Linked DNA regions of Homo sapiens: all the other regions are linked to region 1. Evidence: promoter capture Hi-C in 16 types of primary human blood cells and fetal thymus (Javierre and others, 2016). All regions are on one chromosome and are shown on one strand. Each heading gives the region's core, a stretch centred on a gene start or on the middle of the fragment in contact. The rest is flanking DNA. Distances are from core to core; before and after follow the strand shown. Region 1 holds the start of ZDHHC5 (zDHHC palmitoyltransferase 5). Region 2 has its middle 48 kb from the start of MPEG1. Region 3 has its middle 11 kb from the start of MPEG1.

Region 1 (4,531 bases), core at 617-3,116:
GAACACAAAAGAGAACAGCATCTGAGATGCTTGGGGGCTACACAGTAGAAGGGAAATCAAAAACCTAACAATTTATTGGGTATAAATAAAGATGAACCAATTCTTAGCAAAAGAATGTGCTGCAGATACTAGGATGAAACCACAAGGGTGAGTATGGTTCATCAGAGTCAACAGTTTGAATCCATACTAGTATCAAAAAAGTATACAAGAATATGTATGCCAGCTGGGCACGGGGGCTCACGCCTGTAATCCCAGCACTTTGGGAGGCCGAGGCGGGCGGATCATTTGAGGTCAGGAGTTCGAGACCAGCCTGGCCAACATACCAAAACCCTGTCTCTACTAAAAATACAAACAAATGAGCAGGGCGTGATGGGGCATGCCTGAAATCCCAGCTACTAGGGAGGCTGAGACACGAGAATCGCTTGAACCCGGGAGGTGGAAGTTGCAGTGAGCCAAGATAGCAGCCACTGCACTCCAGCCTGGGCGACAGAGCCAGACTCCGTCTCAAAAATGAGAAAAAAAGTAATATGTATGCCATATTGAGGCACAGAGTAAACTATGAAATGGAAATATGTATATGTAAAACAAACAATACAGGATATGTGGTTTGAAGGCTTTAATAAGGTTTAATACAGGTATTTCCTTAAATAGGTGGATACCAGCAGTACCAAGGACAACACAACTATTTTTTGTTGAAATAAGCGGTGTAACAGTACAATAGAGTAAATCTAAATGCACAGTAATGGAGGTACCATGGAATAATTCACATGTCAAGGTATGGGAGAAAGAGCCAAGAAGTTTAATGTGGGTGTTATCATTATATACCGAGGTAGCAAAATACATGGCAATATAATTTTGTAAACATTAAGTTTATACAATGGGTGATAATGAGCATTCTGAAGATATTTGATCCAGGACAGAGGTATACTGAGATAGAAGGATGATATGCAAATGTTAGATCAACTTGGTCAAGATGGCATTAACCAGGAAGTGAAGAATCCAAGGCAAAAAATAGTCTAGCGTATAACGTATATGTGATCCTACAACTGCCTTCCTAACTTTTAGCAACTTTCTTACTTCTTATTTCAGTGTTTCATTTGGCCAAGTGGGTAAAACACTTTCCACCTGCCTGCCCCAAATATAGGTAAAATATTGACAAACGCATTCGGGCTCCACTTTAAAAAGTACAAAGTACTAAACGCATGGAGCACTCGGCTGGTGGCGGTAGGAGGAGGAAGCGGACGGGTGAGAGAGAACAGGTAACAGGATGAAGCTTGAGCCAAAATAAGTATCAGCAGAGTGGAGCGAGGGACTCGAACCGCAGAGCGGTAAAAGGGAAACAGCACCCGGTCCCCACCACGGGACTGGGGAAAGGAGAATCACCCGTTGGGGCAGGGCTGACGACCGCTGAAACCGAAAAGAAGGAATCCACGGCGGCCAGGCCCACCGAGGTTGAGAGAGCGGGCTGCGGGGACCGCAGAGCCCGAGGGCGCAGGGCCGGGGGCGGAAGGGGCGGCGGCTGGGCGCCAGGCACCGGGGACCGCGGTCTCGAGCTGAGTGGCCGTCTCTAACCCGTTCCGAGCCCTGGCGGTCGTGGATCCCCGGCCTCTACTCGTCGTCCGTTTCCAAGGCCCATGGGTCCCGCCGCGGTTGGAAGACCCGGCCCGGAGGAGAAATAGGGCCTTAATACCCTCCCCGTCTTCGGTCCCCCTTCCCTAGAGGTCACCCTCCCCTCCCACCTCGCTGGTACGGCACTTCCGGTTCCGCAGGGACCGGTGTCCTCCGCACTCACCCGCGAGCCCGGTGCCCGTCACCACCGCCGTCGTTGTCACCGCCGCCTCCCGGCAGTGCCGTCCTGCCTCAGAGAAGCAGCGCGCGGCCCCCGCACGCTCCACGCCCGCCCCGCTGCCGCGCGCTCCCGCCAGGCGTCGCTCGTCTCGGAGCCGGCGCGCGGCCGTTGCCCTCAGTGCCGGGTCTCGAACCCTTCCAGCGTTCCCATTGGCTCCCTAGTCCGGGCTCGCGCGACGTCTCGCGCGGCGCACGTTTGTCTCATTCATGCGGCTCGCGCTGCCGCGCCCAACCCCGCTCACTCTCCCATTCACCCATAGCCCCCACCCCGACTCCGATCTGGGGCGTGCGCGCGAACCCTGGCGACCGCGGCGACCTCGCGGCCTGATTGGCTGCAGCAACACAACGACGTACGCACGCGAGAAGACGAGAGCGCGCACGTAAGGCCGTGGGGTTGCGGGGACAACTAAGAGACAAGGATTGGCCTAATGCACAGGAGTCAGGAATGAGGAAATGGCCAGGCGAGTCTTCCCTTCTCCTGCGTCCTGTTGTATTCCCACTGAATCCAAGCAAAAACCCCCGGAAATAAGAAAAGAATTATGTGTGTGTACTAGAAGTACTCAAAAGCAAGCAGCTACCTTCTCGAATTCAGCAACCCCTCTCCTACTGAGGTGGTACAGTCCAGACAGGCTTCCAGCGCAGCCAATTACCGACGACTATCGCCGCTTCCTGCTTCAGCCCCTTCGCGGCGGATTGGCCAACCATTTGGCGACTAGGCCTCCCTCTTCTCCTTCCCATCTCCTTTTTTTTTTTTTTTTTTTTTTTTGATGGCAAAAACTTTATTTAAAACAATCTTGCTGGAGAAATCTTCAGTCCGGCGAGGTCGCTGGTCCGGGCAGAATCCAGGGCGATGGAATGGTCTGGGCTGTGTCTCCCACATGAAGGGGACGCCCGGACTTGAAGAGCCAATGTAGGGCGAGGCTCCTGCCAAGGGCCGGGGAGGGAGATGAAGAAGAGCAGGCGCCAGCCTTGGAGCCGTAGCGCTAACCGTGAGAGGGAAGCCTAAGGAGCGCGCGACCTGAGGCGGTGGCAGCACCCTCCCGCCCCCGGAGTGCGAGCCGGGAAGTGAACTCCCTGAATTCCATTAGTTTCCCACTGTCACACGTGGGATGGGCGCCCGCATCCCTCACCTCACCCAATCCTAGAATACAAAGCTAAAAGCAAAAGGTTCTCTAGAATAGCTACTGTCCCTGGCGAGCTAACTCTGCATAGGTCATAGTGCTACGCTTTGCCCTGATTAGCCCAAGACAGCTGTGAACCCAATAGCAATGCCCCATGTTCTCTCCCCATTCGGCTCGAGGCTATTTCTTTTTTCGAAAGCAACTCTAGCTATTACATAATGGTCCCTCAAAAAGGTGTTTCACAAGCCACTTCCCTGAAGCCGAGGCCCCTCACCTGTAAAATCCTGAGGACTGTCCTCGGGTTTGGTCTCAAATGTTGCTGGCTTTACTGTGGTTCTGACACTAGCATTAGGCAGTAAGGTAAAAGAGAACTACCTTCTGTTTTCTGGAATCTAGTTCCTTCTCTGACATGGCATATATTATAAGTTCTAGTTTATTCTTGTTAACAGCGTCAATCCAGCATTTATTGCAACACACTTGAGAGTTCTTTATAACGACTTTATATTTTTAAAACAGACCTGGCCTGGCGTGGTGGTTCACACCTGTAATCCCAGCACTTTGGGAGGCCAAGGCAGGCGGATCACGAGGTCAGGTGCTCAAGACCAGCCTGGCCAACATAGTGAAACTCCCTCTACTAAAAATACAAAAATTAGTCGGGCATGGTCGGGGGAGCCTGTAATCCCAGCTACTCGGGAGGCTGAGGCAGGAGAATTGCTTCAACCCGGGAGGCAGAGGTTGCCGTGAGCCGAGACCACACAACTTCACTCCAGCCTGGGCAACAGAGCAAGACTCCGTCTCAAAACAAAACAAAAACCTCTTTAGACCATATGAAAGGTAAATTATTGAAGATACAATATTGATATTTTATTTTTTACTTTTTGAGAGGGAGTCTCACACTGTCACCCAGGCTGGAGTGCAGTGGCGCGATCTCAGCTCATGGCAACCTCCTCCCGGGTTCAAGCAATTCTCATGCCTCAGCCTCCTGAGTAGCTGGGATCACAGGCATGTGCCACCACACCTGGCTAATATTTGTATTTTTAGTAGAGATGGGGTTTCACCATGATGGCCACATTGGTCTGGAACTCCTGACCTCAAATGATCCTCCCACCTCGGCCTCCCAAAGTGCTGAGATTACCGGTGTGAGCCACAGTGCCCGGCCTGATATTGGCATTTTCTACCTGTAAGCCATGTTTCTTTAAGATGAAGTCAGCTTTCATTTTTCTGTTGCAATATTTTTCTTGGATTTTTAGACTTCCTGATTTCCTCCACAAATTAGGCATTTTTATTTTCCTTTCAGCTGTCTAAGAACTTGTAAATAGTGGTGTCTCTTGGCTAGACAGTGCTAAATGGAAAAAAAAAATCAGTCTTCCACCATCCAACCAAACTAAACTCCCCTGGGATACTAACTTGGATTGCCAAGCTTTGTTAGGTGGATGAGCACTAACAGAGGTATAATCACTATCCCAAAGTTGAAAGACAGAGATTCCACTTGTCCAGTTTTCCTTGGGATCACTCAAGATATTTCTTGGAAAGAACGTTTAATAGAACATATGGTTTAAAGT
Region 2 (4,531 bases), core at 535-3,034, 1.6 Mb before region 1:
TCTCTTGAGGCCCTGTCTGGGTGTGTGGTCACTTGTCTACCTGCCCTCCTCCCACAAGAGCCTGTGAGCAGTGTAAGGACTTCATCTGGCTCCAGGGCTGGTGCACAGTATGTGCTCAGAGGGTGTGGAATGAATGAATGAGTGAATGAATGAATGAAGTCCTGCAGTGGATTCCTGGGAGTGTGTCCAGCTTAGGAGATGCAGAGGCTGAGATGCTCTGGCCAAATGCTGGGAAAGGGAGGCAGCTAAGAGAGAGTTTCCACTGTTCATCAAATGCTGACCCCAGGACCACTTTGTCAAGAAGACCACACCTGCTCGGGCTTGGAAGGAGGGTTCCTGGTAGCACTCCTGGCCCAGCTCCAGCAGCAGCTGCACCCTGGGAGGTGGGGGCCTTTGGCTTCCCTGAGCCTGTGTCACTGAGCAGCTGGCTCCATGTGTGTCCGGAGCGCTGTCACTGGGGAGGGGGTGCAGGTTGTACAGGAGCGGCCCCTGTACTCATTGTCTCTACAACCTCTACCGTAATGATCAGAGATTACTGGGCCTGCGGCAAGGCCCAGCCAGCGTGGCCCTGGGGAGAACACATCACATCTGCTGGTGCTGCAGGCGGGGGCTGGGGGCCAGAGGCAGACCTGTTTCTCCCCGAGCACTATCCTGGAGCGGCAAGCTGTTCTGCAGCTGTCCCTGTGTGCTCAGCCACCCTCTACCTTGGATCCCCGCTCCCCTACCCATTGCTCTTCATACACCGTACCCTTTCAGACAAAGTTGGCTGGTCTCCCTTCCAGGCTGGGGACCACAGGGCAGCAAGGCCAAGCTTGGTCAGTACCACATCTGTCTGACAAGAGGACATTACCAGCTGGAGTAGGAGTGCTCTTCCGGCAGAGCCTACGGCACCATGGTGGTGCTGGCAGCCGGCCTCACACCTCATCTCCAAATACCTGCGGGGCCACTGCTCCTGTCCGTCCTAATCCAGATGTGCCCTTGTCTCTCAGGGAAAAATTCTCTCGGAAACCCCTGGACTTTAGCAAAATGGGGGAGGTATGGGAGGTGTGCAGCCCTCCTCTGCCCTGACCAGCGGTGGCCTTGGGCAAGTCACCTGACTATTGGACCCAGGGCACCCCTCCTAATACCCTAAATAGGAGGCATCACTGCTTTTTACAGGGGAGAAGATGGAGGTCCCAGGAAGTTAAGTGACCTGTCCAAAGTCACACAGCTGATGAGGGAAGAAGCTGGTCTGTGTTGGCTCACTCCCTTCTGGGCCCACAGCCCTGCCCAGGCCCTGCCAATAGACACTCTGGCTGGGTGGACCATGACAGCAGCAGCTGTCATTGACTTCACTTGTTGTCCCTCATTGCACCTGCCCCACAGGTACAATGGAGCTACAATAAGTTGTATTAGTTGCCCAGGGCAACATGGCTGGTGAGATGCTATCTTCTGTAAGTGGTTCACTCCCACTGGCCACAGCCAGCCAGGTGAGCAGAGGCTGGGCCTGGGAAGGCAGGGAGAAGGGCTCAGCCCAGCAGGAATCAAGGCTGGGAAAGGAGGCCTACGTGAGGTCATGCTGCACACCAGTACCCAAGTGGGACTTGAACCCAGGCGTCCAGCCTCCCAGGACTGGAACCTTAATTCCCTTATTTGTAAAATGGTGCTCCTGTGTATCTGTGTGGAGACAGAAGCACCAAGAGCCAGGACAGGCTCACTGTGTCAGAGTCACCCTGTGGCCTTGGACAAGCCATGTTCCCCTCTCCTAAGCCTCAGTTTCCCCACCTGCAAAATGAGGATAGTCCGGTATAGTGAGCCCAAGTCTCCCTTGCAGCTTGGACTCTGCCCTGGGCCTCATGTGAATGGGGCCTGGCCTGGCTCCCAGCCTGTGCTCCCCATCACTACACAGCCCCACCAAGCACCCCATGGCTGGCCCCTCCTCTGAGAAACAAGGACAACCTCTACTTGTGTTCTCCACCAGCTGTTGGGAATGTGAAATGAGGTGTGAGAGGGAGCCCGCACCAAGACACTGCTAACGGCTGTCCCAGCACAAGCCCATTCCTGGGAGCCTACGACTCGGCACGGTGGGGTTCCCGGGATTGTGCGTTTTCCCCAGATTTTGACCCCAGCAGACTCAAGGCCATCCATGAAGAGGGGAAGGGAGGGGACTTTGTTCCCTCCTCAGACCTCCCAGACAGAGCACAGCACCTCGTGCGGGAGCCAAAGAAGTTTATTTACTCCAAGGGGCGGCAGGAAGGCAGAGCGCTCAAGAGGAGAGACCCAGATATATCGACCAGGGGCTCCCCTGAAATTTGGAATTTCTCTTCCAAGCCTGAACATGGCATGTGATTAAATGCAGCCTGTCCAGACACCAGTGAGGGCCTCTAGGGCTGCTTGTGTGACTTTCTTCCTAGCTACGTCCACCCATCCCGGACACAGCCAGTGCATTGCTCTGTACTGACTTCCATTGCGGTCAATTGTCAAAATGAAACATTTGCAGAGGTAATGACTGCTCAGCATCTGACACAGTCAGGGGAAAAGACACCGCTGACTCTGCAGGATGGAGGGTCTAGGATCCATTGGCGGGAAAACACTAGTCAAGGGAAATGAGCATGATTTCCGGAGTAGAATACATGCATGGTCTGGAGTTAAGTAAACCGGAAAGTTTCACCCCCAAGACTCAATTTAATAAAAACTGCCCAACTCTGTTCACTCTTTATGATTAAAAGCAGCTTTAAAGCTGGCTGATTTCTTAGTCAAATGTGTAGCAAAGCTTTTACCTATCAATTTTTTTCGTGGTGAGTCATGGGCTGAAATACATCTTGCGCTCAATAAACTTCCCCACATCAACATTTCAAAGCACTTTTTAGGTTACAATAATGATATTTCACTTCCATATATGCATACATAGAATATATATTTTAAAATAGAGTGGGTTTTAAGAGTATACTGGGAGCCCTAGGAGTCTTCTATGGACAGAACAGGTTGGCCCATGGACTTCCAGCCAAAGGCTCCATGCCTTGGGGCTGCTTTGGGGGAGAGATTCACAGCTGGACTTCTCTATCTGACCATGCAATGTCAGCACCAATCACCCACAATGTTTTGCCCTCAAGAGACAGAAATAATGAAACTCAGAGGAATAAACAGTATTGATAACATACACAGGCTTAGAGAAACCAAGCCCAGTAATGATCATGTGACGGAAGACTACAGGTAGCGGTACTTTGATTGGGCTGGGATTATTGATAAATCACGTCTCTTTATAAGCATATATAAAATGAGCACGACTGAACTCATTCGTTAGTGAACTCTTTCACTAACTCGTCCATGACCTCCTTGCACTGGGCTTGGTGCTCTGTAATCACGGGCTGGAGAACCTCTATGAGCATCTTCTTGAGGTCACCAGTGAGCATGTCTCTGCTGGTGTCATCCTGCCCTCAAAAAGACAGCCATGGTGAGAGATGGCTCCACATGCCCTAAGTGGCTTCTTCCTGCCTCAGACACCAGGTCAGCCCACACCACCCTTGCAGAGCCAGGCGTGCAAGTGGCACTTAGAAGTGAAATCTGTTGTTACCATGACAAACAGCTGTACCTTCAGCTACACTTTTCTTAAAACAACTAGAAACCTGGCTGTGGCAGTAGCCATAACTTGGTCTCTCATAGTGAAAGGGCCAATGAGGAGGGCAGTCCCCACCTCCACCGACGCTAGGGACTGCTCCCCCAAGCATAAACAACAATAATTCCTGGCAGCCTTATGGCCTCTGTAAAATCTTGCTGATGTTTTTCTTTTTCTGATTGTAGTACATGCTCATTAAACAAATTTAATAAGGTACCCAAACCACAAAACAGCAGCAAACTGAAGAAAAAAATCACCTACAATTCCAGTGCCCAGAGGTGGGGCCCACTGCTAACATTTGGCACATTTTCTTTACATTTCGTTCCCTGTGCATTTCATTTAAACAATTAACCTCTCACTGCATTTTTCATTTGGTGTTCTTTTTTCATTATCCTAGGCATATTCTCCTGTGTCACTAAAGTCTTTTTTTTGTTTGTTTTTTGTTTTGTTAAAGAAATGAGTGTCTCATTATGTTGCCCAGGCTGGATTTGAACTCCTGAGCTCAAGGGATCCTCCCGTCTCAGCCTTCCAAGTAGCTGGGACTACAGATGTGTGCCACCATACCCTGCATATGAAAACTCTTTTAAAATAGTTCATGTCCCCATAATAACCTATCCTGTAACAATTCTAATTTAACATTTCCTCTGTTATACAGTTTCTTTTGAACTTTTTGCTATTATCATTTTAATGTCTTGGTGTGGAAAGCTTTTACATATTCAGGATTATTTCCTTGGAAAAAATTCCAAGATTTGGAAAACTGAGGCAAAGCTCTGAACATTTTTGGGCTCTTTGTACCTGGTACCAAACTGCTCACTGAGGCTGTGTGGATGAACACTCACATGGGTGTGCCTTGAAGCATCTGGTTTACAATCATTGAAAACACAGTCAAGGGCAACACAAAAACTCTGGTAATTCTATAGTGAATTGTCTCAGCTT
Region 3 (4,531 bases), core at 1,392-3,891, 1.6 Mb before region 1:
CTTACTGCAATGATACACAAAATGACTCCAACCCACCCCCATGGAACATCCTGAGGGATCTTATAAAAGAGAAATTGTATCATTTTACTCTCCTGAATAAAACCTTTTATTAACTGATGAAGTCCCCAATTCTTATCATATACAATGCATGATAAAATCCACTCCTATACCTGTCTCTCCAGCCTCTGCTCAAACCACAGCCACCTCTGTAATCTGTAGTCACCCTAGACTTCCCAACATTATCTCCATTCTCTTTCAGTATGTCTCAGTCTCTGTCTCTCTATCTGTGATATGGTTTGGATATGTGTCTTTTCCAAATCTCCCTTCGAAATGGGATTCCCAATGTTGGAGGTAGGGCCTGGTGGGAGGTGACTGGATCATGGGGGCGAATCCCTCATGAATGGAAGAGCACCATCCCCTTGGTGATAAGTGAGTTCTTGCCCAGTTAGTTCACCTGAGAGCTGGTTGTTTGAAAGAGTTTGGGACATCCACCTTCTCTGTCTCTCTTGCTCCCACTCTCGCCATGCGATGTGTGATGCACCTGCTCCCCCTTTGCATTCTGCCATGATTCAAAGCTTCCTGAGTCCTCTCCAGGAGCAGATGCTGGTGCCGTGCTTTATATAAAGCCTGCAGAACTGTGAGCCAATTAAACCTATTTTCTTTACAAATTACCCAGCCTCAAGTGTTCCTTTATAGCAATTTAAAATGGATGAAAACAATCTGTTTCTGTCTCTGTCTCTGCCTTTCTATCTGTCTCTATGACTCACTCTGTCTCTCTATCTCTGTCTCCCTGTCTCTGTATCTCTATCCGTGGTCTATCTCTCTGTTTCTTTTCTCTCTCTCTGTTTCTGTTCTCTGTCTCTATGTCTATCTCTTTGTCTTTCTGTTTCTGTATATATCTCTGTCTCTATCTCTATATATCTGTCTATTTCTATCTCTGTCTCTGTCATTCCTCTCTGTTCTTCTATGTCTATCTTTGTCTCTGACTCTGTTTTTGTCTCTTCTTTCTCTGTCTCTCTCTCTTTGTGTCTGTTTCTGTTTCTCTCCATATCTCTGTCTGTCTCTCTCTCTCTCTGTTTCTCTGTCTCTGTCTCCACGTGTGGCTCTTTGTCTCTGAATCTCCATCTCCCTCTCCGTCTGTCTTGGAGGGCCATGCTGATCCCCAGGGCCACATTCACTTCCCTGCTACGTTCTCTCAGCATCTTGAACTTCCCTTTCACATAGTGCATCGTGTTCAATGTCTGTCCTTGAATGACTCTATAATCTTCATGACAAAGCAACTGGTGCCTGACTCAGTATTTGCTCAACAAATTTGGGGAGGAGTACATTATTAATTTGACTGTACCTCACAACATTTTTAGAGCTATCCATGATCTCTTAGTGACTGCTCTACCCACTCTCCTCTGTTTACAAGCAAATAACTGGAGCTCCCAGTGGGGAAAAAATTTGCTAATGTCTCACAGCTGGTTAATGAAAGCACTCTTTTCTGGCCCAGCAATCTTTCCACTTATCACACAACAGCTGGGTGTTGCTTGTTGACAACTTACCCAAGAGGAGGTGAAAGGTTCTAGAAGGAAGAATGCAGTACGGTCTGAAAACCCTTGCTCCACTGTTTGGCGACTCTGATTTCCTGTTTTCAAGGAAATCATGCTACTTCAGCTATCCCATGAATCCTGTGGCTTGGAAAACTTCTTCTCATCATAATTATCATGCCTCAAATGGAAGAAACCATAAGAGAATATACGGACTGGCAGTTTTCAAATTGTGTTCCAGGGATCCCAGGCCTGCTCTGAGAGGTGAGGAGGAAGTGAACTTCTGGGCTTTGGCGCCCTGCTTCCTGCTCAACCGAGGGAGCTCTTCTTTCATATGTTTTATATTTTTGGTTTCCATGTAAGCTTACATGGGAAAAGAAAGGCTCTACAGCTGAATAATGCTTATAATCCACAAATTTAATATAATCCTCTAATTTTGTAAGTGAGAAAATGAAAGCCCAGAGAAAGGAAGCAATTTGCAAGATGGTGGCAGAGCTAGGATTCACACCGACTGCTCCTGAATCCTCATGTCCTGACCATAATCTTTCCTCTCTATGAAGAATTCCTTCATATTATCTCACCCACCATGAAAGTAAAGGAGAAGAACATTGCAGAGATCTGGCTCTTGTTAACATCCCACTGCCAGTGAAGTTAGTCTCCAGACCTTTCTCCACCCTCAGACCTCAATTCTCTCTGTCTTTTTCTCTCCCCACTTCACTGATGCAATCACTAGCTGCTCTTTTGCCCTCTCCCGACTCTCAGGAAAAGTTGTGTTGTCATCACTTGGTGAAATAGCAGTTCTTCATCTTTATTCTAGCGGTTCAGGGAGAGGGAAGGCAGATTAATTACATTTGCAGCCTGAGCTCTCCCTATGGAAAGAAAGTTGTTACTTTCAGAAAAAAAGGGTTTTAGACTTCTGTGAAAGTATTATTTTATTCAGGGCAGGGGTGTGACAGCAGGAAAGTTTGTTTCCCACAGCCCTGAAACCACAATACATGCATGGCAACCTGTTACATCTAAGAAAAAGTTAACAATTACAAAATAATTATAACAAAAGAGAACTTGGCTGGGTGAGCTGATGCATGGAAACCCTGCCCTGCATATACTCAGGTATAGACACATTTCTTCAAACACAAAGATTCAAGCTCAAAACCAAGAAAGGGAAATACCTGAAGGCCAAAAAGAGAGAACTCAAAATCAGAGCAGTAAGTGGGAGTTGAAGCCCTGCAGCTAAGGAGCTTGTTGGGCCTTACGTAGACTTAATGGCAGAGTCTTGGGGCTTTAAGGGCTGTGGGTGGGGATCCAGGCTGCTGGTCCTGTGTACAATGTTCAAGGGGGTGATGGAACTGTCTTGGGAGTCAAGAAGGCTTATGACCACATAGGTGTGACGTTTTTGTTCACATTGTTCCCAAACCAAGAAATTACCATAAACACTGGTTCAGCATAAGGCCTCATATACTCAGCATATTCAGTATAAGTTTATTCAGTATATTGAATCTAAGTCCTCATATACTGATAGAGTAGGCCTCAGCAGAGGCAAAGCTAAAACTATCTTGGAGGGACAGTTCCATAAACCGGAGCAAACCAGCCTCCCACAGCAAACAACCCCAGTGGAAATGCAGCTCAAGACTCATAAGTTACAAACCACACAAGGAAGCAAGTCACAAAGGGGAAGTATCAGCAGAAACAAAACACGGAAAAATTTCCACACCATGACCTGGATTCAACAAGATATTCTTTTTTTTTTTCAAGTAAAACATCATGGTCATAATTTTGAAGAAGTTTGTTATCACTGGATTGCAGAATCACAGACTGTGTGTCATTCAGATGCTGGAGAGAATCTCAACAAGCTTTTTTATTTTACAGATGGGGAAACAGAGACTCAGAGAGGGGAAGTGACTTGTCTAAAGTCACCCTTAGGTTAGTGGGAGAATGAGGAATAGAATCAAAGTTACCAGGTTTCTAGCCCTGTGCTACTTTTTCTGTCCCATGAGGCCCTAATTTCTCAAGGTAAAAATTAAAAATCTAACTTGAAGAGAGGACCAGTAGAAAAGAGAGAAAGACCTATCAAGGATCTAGGAAAAGCTGGAGTGAGGACCCTAGTTCTAATTAGCAAAGCTCCTATTTGGCTCTCTAATAACTAGAAATTTTAAATAAATGCCTCCTGTCTTGTATTTGCATTATGCTGACCTGGTTCTCTTTCCTAGTTTTCCCCTACTTAGTCCTTCTCCTGCTGTTGGCATAATGAAAGTGTTATTACAATTGGGGCAAGTCAGGTTCTGTGAGAGTTTCTTCTTCCTTCCCAACCTTTGCCCCACCCAGCTTCTATATCTATGTAGGAGGGTTAGGAACAGGGAGAGGGGTAAGACCAGGTACCTTTAGGACAGACTCATTAGCTGCAGATATCAGGCAAAGATGGGAAGCAAGGTGGGTACGGAACTGGCTATGGGTTCAGCCTTGCAGGGCCAGAGCCTTGAAGACCAGATCAGATGTAAATAAGGCCAAAGCTTTTGGCATAGAGGAGCACTGTCTTTAGGCTTTGTAATTGATTCATTATGTAAGACATCAAGTTTACACCATCCCACGTTTGCCAAGGATATAACTTCAGACCAGAAAACCAATTCTTTTATAGTAAGAAACACAAATAGCACAAACTAGACCCAGGGTAACTGTTCAAAAATATTGTAGTAAATTCAAATAAAAATTTCATAATAACGTTACTTAAGCTTGAGTATTCCATCTCAATGAGTCATGGCCTGCTTTTCCAGGGAAATGTTTGAGAAATGCTGTCAGATTTGTCTGTTTTATTCACGTCTTTATTCATTCAATATAAGCAAACTATGTACCAAACATTGCTACATTCCAATAAGAGAATGATAAACCAATGACACAGTCCTCTGTCATTAAAGAGCTTACATTCACTGGAGGAGAGAGTCAAACAAAAAGTCAATTGAAATACAGAGTAATAACGCAAGGGGTGCTATTGGAGCATGTAAGAG

What was found. Contacts are between HindIII fragments. The CHiCAGO score rates a contact against its expected background, and 5 or more counts as called.
Region 2: a fragment that was not itself captured here is called in contact with the fragment with the promoter of ZDHHC5 in region 1 in 1 of 17 cell types (neutrophils); the score reaches 6.1 in neutrophils.
Region 3: a contact is called between a fragment that was not itself captured here and the fragment with the promoter of ZDHHC5 in region 1, in 1 of 17 cell types (M0 macrophages). The highest score is 5.4, in M0 macrophages.

Annotation. Positions count from the first base shown.
Region 1 is chr11:57,665,449-57,669,979 of GRCh38, reverse strand. ZDHHC5 (zDHHC palmitoyltransferase 5) reads right to left here and starts at 1,866. Exons shown (of 12, transcript NM_015457.3): 1 at 1,793-1,866. RefSeq lists enhancers at 1,165-1,234, 788-1,425, 1,426-2,065, 2,235-2,814 and silencers at 1,345-1,544, 1,795-2,034. The HindIII fragment of the contact is 3,116 bases long and covers 1,276-4,391 here.
Region 2 is chr11:59,258,242-59,262,772 of GRCh38, reverse strand. It overlaps the pseudogene WARS1P1. Among named protein-coding and RNA genes, the nearest start is that of MPEG1, 48 kb to the right of the region's middle. The HindIII fragment of the contact is 1,941 bases long and covers 814-2,754 here.
Region 3 is chr11:59,221,544-59,226,074 of GRCh38, reverse strand. No RefSeq gene overlaps it. Among named protein-coding and RNA genes, the nearest start is that of MPEG1, 11 kb to the right of the region's middle. The HindIII fragment of the contact is 1,487 bases long and covers 1,898-3,384 here.